Linked DNA regions of Homo sapiens: region 1 is linked to region 2. The links are contacts of gene promoters, found by promoter capture Hi-C in human tissues and cell types (Jung and others, 2019). All regions are on one chromosome and are shown on one strand. The core of a region is centred on a gene start or on the middle of the fragment in contact, and the rest is flanking DNA. Distances in the headings are between cores, read along the strand shown.

The links. Contacts are between HindIII fragments. The study calls those that stand out against the background at their distance.
Region 1: the fragment with the promoter of PTPN21 here is called in contact with the fragment with the promoter of SPATA7 in region 2 in 1 of the 25 tissues and cell types used here (hippocampus).

Annotation. Positions count from the first base shown.
Region 1 is chr14:88,552,483-88,556,521 of GRCh38, reverse strand. It overlaps PTPN21 (protein tyrosine phosphatase non-receptor type 21), which reads left to right and starts at 1,515. Exons shown (of 19, transcript NM_007039.4): 1 at 1,515-1,871. LOC124903405 (proline-rich protein 2-like) reads left to right here. Exons shown (of 2, transcript XM_047432047.1): 2 at 1,462-1,865. The coding sequence ends at 1,826. RefSeq lists a silencer at 1,508-1,557. The HindIII fragment of the contact is 8,452 bases long and covers 255-4,039 here.
Region 2 is chr14:88,383,624-88,387,536 of GRCh38, reverse strand. SPATA7 (spermatogenesis associated 7) reads right to left here and starts at 1,880. Exons shown (of 12, transcript NM_018418.5): 1 at 1,700-1,880. The coding sequence starts at 1,718. RefSeq lists enhancers at 1,688-2,007, 2,018-2,087, 2,118-2,197. The HindIII fragment of the contact is 14,884 bases long and covers 491-3,913 here.

The sequences.
Region 1 (4,039 bases), core at 266-2,765, 170 kb before region 2:
GCCTGGTATTAGCAAGGAAATAAGAGAGAACTGAGAAACCAGATGCCAGGAGACCACCCTTGTTGCAATAATCCGGATGTAAAATGATGAGGGTTTGGATTTAGAATGTTCCAGGGGGAACAGAAAGGAAACAAAGAATTCATGAGACATTTCAAAGGAGGAAATACCAGGTCTTGATGACAGGCTGGAGATGATAATGGGAGAAGTCACACATGATTCCAGTTTTTCTACCTTGGGAAGCCAGCAAAGTGACTTCTTTTTAGATCTCTTTTCTTTGCTCACACACAAATTGACCCCCTCATAGAGTTCAGTTGAAATATCAATTACAAACAGAATTGATCTATTTTTTTTCCCTTAGAAACACAGGTAATCTTATTTGCCTTTAGCTAAACGACCCAAGATGCACCTTGCTGGGCTTTGCTCTTGGATAGCACTCATACCTCTATGACAATGCTCCCCACTTTGGCCTTGTACTGCGTGTGTGGTGTGCAGGTGCGTTTATCACCCACTAAACCAAAAGTCCGTGTTGTGCAGGGACCACGTCTCATGCAGAGTTAAGTATTCAAAAGTTTTTGTTAATTGTTTAAGAAAATGAGATTTACATGAAACAATACTTTAAAAAGCTTTCCAGAAACAACAGCATTAAAACAAAATCACTGAAATTAAAATTTACATAAATTAAAAGGTTCTGTGTTCCACATGCCAAGAAAAGATCTTACACTATTGTAATAGTGGTAGGGTCACACAGTTTTATTCCTCAGCTTAAGTGCTGCAATACAGTAATAATGCAGTACAAGAATACTGTATAATAAACCTTAAACGAAACACTTCATATATACTTTACACAAGTTATTGGATATTGCTTAGTATTTATTTCCCCCACCCCTGCTGTGCAAAGATATTAATATCCCTCTTTTATAGGAGAGGAAACAGGTAAAGAGAAGTTAAGAAACTTGCACAAGGTCATCCAGCTAGTAAATGTTGGAGCTGGGATTTGACAACTTTGTCAAGTCTCCATCCTTAACAGTTCTGCTCTATATTGCATAAGCAGACAGCTCCCTTTTGGGGACTGACAGGTTATTTGAGGCATATGAACCATTTTTGGTGGGGGGGCTTTCCCACCCAGTACTGGAAGTGTCTAGTTATATGGGGCATAACCTTAGGAGCAAGCAGGAAAAGAAGAAATGTATTCCAATAGTGTTCAGAAATATACCAGAGTAAACGAATAACCATCAATAACAGCATTTTACAGCCTACCTAATAACACAGGAATAAAACCCTTTATCTGGAACCTAAATAATACCCCCTCCACTCATTTTATTAAAAGCCTTGCTTTATTTGGAAACTCTTAAAATAAGTGGTCATACGATTAAAAAAAGCAGCGGCGCGCCCCCTCCCCGGCGGCCGGGCGCAGCTGTCCGCGCCTCCCCCGCGCGGCTGCCCGCATTCCAACTCTCTGAGGTCACGGGCCGCCGCCGCCTCCCCGGATCCGCCCGCCCGGCTCAGGGGGAGGGACGCCTGGGCCCGGCCGCCCCGCTGCTCCGGCCGCGCGTCCCGCGTCGGTCCGACGGTCTGTCCGTCCTCCTGCCACCCCCCGCCCCCACGGGGCTTCTTTGTGCGGCGCTCCTCGCCGGCCGGTCCCACCTCCAGGCCTCGCCCCTCGCCGTCGCCACCGCCGGACTCTGCCCAGGGGAATGGTCTGCGAGCCGGGTTTTTGGAGACAGGAAGTGAGGCGTGCGAGCCCCATGAGCGCGCCGCGGCCCGGGCTGGCGTGCGGGTGCGGCTGCGGCGGCCGCGCGGCGGGGCCCCGGGAGGCGGGTCGCTGAGCGGGGCGCGCGGCCCCGAGGATGCGGGAGCGGGAGCGGGAGCAGGTGAGGGCGCGGTCCCCGGCCGGCGGGAGGGGCGGGCGGCTGGCCCGAGCGGTGGGGTGTGTCCACTCGCCCGGACCCCGGAGCGCGCCCGCGGCCCCGGAATCCCGGAGAATGGGGCGCGGCGGCCAGACCCGTAGCGGGAGCGTAACAAAGAGAAAAGTCTTGTTTTTCAGGTTCGCTCTCATATACTTGAGTAATTTCTAAAAGGAGTCTTGAACTTCTATTCCGAACGCCCTGGCCGATTGTTGCGGGTTAATTCTGGATCAGGGTTTTAAATGTGTTAGGCATATTTGTGCCTCTCAGAATATATAAACGTGAAATTCGCCAGATAACTTTGGCGAGAAGGGGCGCAGGGAAGGACTGTTTGGTAACGCCTGGGTTTGTTTTTGGAGTAGAGTATTTACTCTGGAAACAAGAATTCTTGGATCTGCAAATTCCGACTTGTGATTTCTGCAAATCCTGATTAGATTGGCCGCTCTTGGCATGCTCGTCCTATTTTCTTTTTTGCTGAGAAAGCCTTATACTAATAGCGTATGCTCACAAACACATTCAGAACATTCGTGTGCTCCAAGTGACAACTGCTGTATGCCTAATAGTTGCTGACAGTTTATTTATTTTTTTAAGTTTGGGACACGACAGTAATTTTACTCTGAATATAGTCCGTTTCGTTTCTAGGGCATTTTATTCTGGAGCATCTACGCACAGATGTTTTCTCCGTGAGAAACATGGGTTTAATGCTATAGCTATAGATATTACTCTAAAAATGTCACATACTCTCTCCTTTTAGTGCTTATTTTATTTTAAAGCAACTTTGGCAAAATTACATGTGGTAAGGACCTTAATAGGAAAGGGGAAACGCTGTAAGATTGAGAGGTAAAGTGTATTTGAGGAACTTTTGGAAAGGGTTGTAGAGAGGGAAAATTAAAATGAATTCACAAATAGTTCAGACTGCCTTTTGTAAACTTGTACTGAAGCAGAATCTAGTATGTATCTGTTTACTTACCACAAAACGGAAAGATTTTGTAGAGAAAAAATTATATCCTAGTTTTCCTTTAATAGCTATTTATAAATTATGTTTACTTTAGTAAATTATAATTCCAGACCCAATCACTTTCATATTATTGCATATTATTTTATACCTGAAACAGACCTCCCCAAAGAACTCTTAAATTTCTACTCATCTTGGTTTTATTATCTTCAGACATTCATAATTGTATTACACCATTTGGCAACAAATACTGCATATTACTGAAAATTAAGATGTATAAATCATTGATAAATTTGTAAATTATTAAACAAAATCATTGTTTTAACATAGTGGGTTTTATATAAATAAGCAAAAAGCAAGCCATTCTTATGGATAGATCTTGGGGGGATGCACCATGTACACACACACTGCAACTTTTTCAATTTCATCTACCAAAATAAGAGATAATTTTGACTTTTCCTTTATCCCTGATGCAGTAATACATTTCAAGTCTGAGGGACAATTGAAAGTTTTACTGAGTTTGCTTAATCAGAGCTTAAGTTAATAATTAAGTTATACAGTGTAGTATCTATTGCTTTCAAGGCATAGTTCTATGTAGTGAAAAGACTACCATATTTGAATGGCACCTAATACAAATATTTATCTTTCCTCTACACATATGCAATATCTTGTCTGTTCATCTACACTACTTAATCCGCCCGGTTTCCAGTTACCATAATTTTTATGTAAAATTGAAACCCACCATCTGATCTCATGAAAGGGTGTTTAGTATGCATATTTATAATCCTTAAATATTTACTCTTGGTTTATCAATTTTCTAGTTAAAAGCTTATTATTTAAAGTTGTCATTTGCTAATTTTTTTCCATCTTGCTTTACTTATTTAGTTTATACCCCTGAAACAGCAAAGAGCATTGAAAACTACTGGAAGTGGAAACCATATCTTTTAATACTTATTTTCTGTTTCCCTCCATAGTATGGTGCTTTTACCTACAGAAGGCACTCAGCAAATGCGGTTAATTAACACAGTGCTTTAGGTAGTTGCAGCGTTGTTTTTTTCTTCTGGCCTTCCCCTATCCCTTGTTTTTAATATTTTGATTTTCCTGGCTATGGGAAATAACCAGAGCTCAAAACAAACAAAAAAACTAGCCAGATAAAACCGTGGTTGGGTCCTTATTAGAG
Region 2 (3,913 bases), core at 631-3,130:
AGCACCTCCTAATGAAATCTAAGAAATTTATTCTCAATTATTTTAGCTGTGTCTAAAATTATTTATGGTTTCCTATTAATTTACAGTACATGAAAGCTGACTGCCCTGGTTATTTGGTGATTACATTTATTTTAAAAATTCAAAATAACAGTATTTGACATTATCATATATTATTTCCTAAAAATGAAGCTAATTAAATTGTGCAAGTTGTAAAAATATAAACCTTTTTACATTTGGCATGAACCCAATTTTTAAAATAATTCAATAAACAAATACTGACAACTTACTAAATCTACCATACTCTAAATGTTACATTTATCCTTTCCCCCTGCCCATCCCTACCATGGGATAGTAAGTAAATGCATTGGCTTCAGATTTATATTCTTCACCTAGATTCAAATCCTGTTCTGCCGCTGTGATCTTGGCAAGTTATTTGTGATCTTTTGCTTTAGTTTCTTCACTATGAAATAAGGCTAATGCCTATCAAGGTATTTTTGTACATTAAATGAGATAATTTGGAAATAGTTCCTAGTACATAGCAAGGGTTTAATGTTAGTTTATATGCAAAATTTCTTAAGATCATAAAGCGTTTTGATTTGCTTTTTCTGAAACCTAGGTTGGTGAAGTGTCAGAATAGTTTGCTGATCAATGAATAGTTATCTCCTACATTCGGAGTAGCACTTATTTTGATCAATGACTATATAATAAAGGCAGACTCATTCAAAGAAAGACATCAAGGAATCATCTAGCAGCTTGGTTTAAAGGCAGTCTTTTAAATAGATAAAAACACTGAATTGGGAGGGGCGGGGAGTCTATAAAGATTGCCTCATTTGACTCGAGGAAAGAATGATACTGGCTCAGAAAGTGTGAAAATGCAAATTATTTGGTTTGGGCCGATTTGTAGATATTTAAGATTGTATTTCCCCACCCCCAACCCCACCACATGATGTCCACCTGACTCAAGAAATCAGTAGAGAACAGGTGTATATGGTGAGTACGGATTGCTGCTAAAACTGCAGTCCGCTGACCAGCAACACCGCATTACTTGGAATTTATTATAAATGCAAAATCTCAGCCACCCCCAAGGGACCTACTGAATCATAATCTGCATTTTAACATGACCCTGAGGGGATTCCTATTCACAGAAAGTTACAGAAACCCTGGGTTACTCAGTAGCTTTGGGGGAGGTAGTTCGTTACTGGGAGATTTCGTATTTACTGACCACTTCAAATGCGCCAGGATCTTCTCTATATTATCTGCATTTAATCCTCAAGAACTCCATGGCCTGGGTATTTGACCCTCACGTTCAAGAGATAAGAAAACTGAGGGTCGTCTCCATGGAGAGCAGAGGGGTTTGATTTGGGGCCCGGGGAGGTCTGACTCCAAAGACCAAACCTGGTTCCTCTGCCTGGGAGCTACTGAGGTTTTAAAGGCTGCACGACCCTGAGTTCAGGAGACAGGGGCCCCTGGTGTCAGGGCGACAAATTCAGGGCAAAGAAGCGGACCTGCGAGGCTGGCAAGCAGGCTCTCCCTCTTCCTTTGCGCAGGCCTGGGCAGCTCCAGGCAACACTGGCGACTCAGCCAGGGGTAGGAAGCGCCCCAAGGGGCGGCCTTGCACTCAGCTGCCCGGACCCGAGGCTGGGAGCGCCGCCTGGAGCGAGGGGCGAGGCGGCGGTAGCCCCTGACAGCTGCCCTTTACCTCTCCGGCTGCCATCCATGCTTAGTCCTCTTGCAGCCGCCGCAGGGACACGCTGTATCCCCTTCGGTCCTTCCCGCGGCCGGGCCCAGCCCCGGCAGTGGAGGACTGGAAAAGAGGAGCCGACGGGGGCTGCAGCAGCAGGGAAACCGTTGCCAGGCCGTTGCTAAGGGCTGGGTCCAGTGAGTCGCTATTGTGACGTCACGGCGCAGGGGACGTGCGTTCCGCAGCCCCGCCTGCGGGATACCCGGTACTAGGAGGACAGTTGCGGACGGAGAGACCTGGCGGGGAAGGGGCATCGAGCCCCAGTCTGTTGCTCTGGGATCCTGCCAGTCTTCCGCAGAGCGACCTCCTGTCAGGATCCGAGTCACCAGCACCTGGCAGGCTCTGTCCCTGCGGGAAGAGCAGGGAGAGGAGGTGGACTCATCTGGCATCCACGTCCCCTGGGTCCCGGAGAAAAGTGAAACACAAATGTTAGCTGAGGTCAGGGTAACATTTAACCAGTTCCAAATAATTAAATTTCAAAGCAGTCCGTGAACTTTTGGATTAGTGAAAATCCTAGGGGTGAAAAACATCTACATATTTACATCTTAATTCTTAACCTTAATAATAAGTTTGAATTTCCTTTCTGCTCGCCAAGCTTCCCCGCTCCTGTCCCTGCCTCCCTTTTATCGTAAGTTTCAATCCATTTTTATTTATAATGGAAGAGAGCTGCAACATGAATAAGGGGTTGATTTATTGATGGCTTTCTATAATTTGTTTAATTTTGAAGCAGTTACCTTTGAATCCTTGGAAATAACGTCAGATCAGGGTAGGAAGCATTCTGTCATGTAAGACTTCTCAGCCCAAATGTCCATTGACATTTTGGGCTGGTTGTATAATTCTCTGTTGTGGGGGTGCTGTCCCTATGAACTGTTTTGTAGCATCCCTGTCCTCCGTTTACTAGAAGCAAGTAGCTTCTCAGAAGCAGACCCCACCCACTCCACCTCCAATCCTGACAGTCATAAATGTCTCCAGACATTGTGAAATATTCCCTGGGGGGCAAAATCGCAACTCTGTTGAGAACCACTGCTGTAATGAAAAGAGTCCTGGTTTTGGAACCAGATATGTAGAACTTAATTCTAAATTTTTTGCTACTTACCAGCTTGATCTTGAATTAGTTTCTAAAACTTTCTGAGCCCCAGTTTTCTCTTTTCTAATGTAGATTGTGAAAGTTGTCAGAATCAAAAATAGAGTCACATGTGTTAGAAAACCTGACAAGTGGAACTGGAGAAGGCCATGAAGGAGAGTTCTCATCCATGAATGCCTGATAATAAAACTATCACAAAATACTGCGAAAACCACAACCTTGCACAAAGACCTCCACCTTACCCAAAAAGATACTTCTATGAGGACATCTGTCCAGCAATTGTCTGTCCAACCTTGAACTGACATCACCCTTGTTATTGATGCTTGGAGCCAAGGCTAATTACCTCAAAACAATTATGTAATCCTCTCCTTTTTTTATTTTTTAAAAAAACTTTTTTTTCCTTTAATTCCTTGAATATGCAAACAGTTTGCCATGGCACGCATATTCCTATTGCAATGCCCATTCCTGGGTAAATGTCATTTTCTTCTGTAGAGTTGAGGACTAAGCTCTAATTTTTTTATCTTGCCCAAATTCCTATCTAAGGTGTCTAGGGAGTCATGCCCTAGAAACCATAAATTCTTATCAGATGGGTTTTATTTGACTCTATATACCATGACTTACTTTCCAATCTGATTCTGGCATAATATTATGAGACAAGGAAAAAAAAATCAAAATATTTAACCCCAAGATATATTTCCTTGCCATATCTTGAAATTGCCCTGCAAAATCTCTTGTGGGAAAAAACCACATTCTATAGAGAATCTCTTTTCCCCTTTGTTTTCCTTCTTTCCTTTCCAAATCCAGGAGATAACCAACTAAGAGCCAGGCACCCTTTTAGGTCCGACAAGACAAATTTTACAATCTGCTCTCTCTCTGAGGTCTGCTATACTGAGAGCTTCCTCTGCACAATAAACTTGGTCTCCACAATCTTTTATCTTAACCCCAACATTTCCTTTTTATTGATCCCAGGCCTTCAGATAAACTCAACCAATTGTCAACCAGGAAATGTTTAAATTTACATACTCATTGAGTTGTCCCACCTTTCTGAACCAAACCAATGTATTTCTTATTTGATTGATGTCTCATGC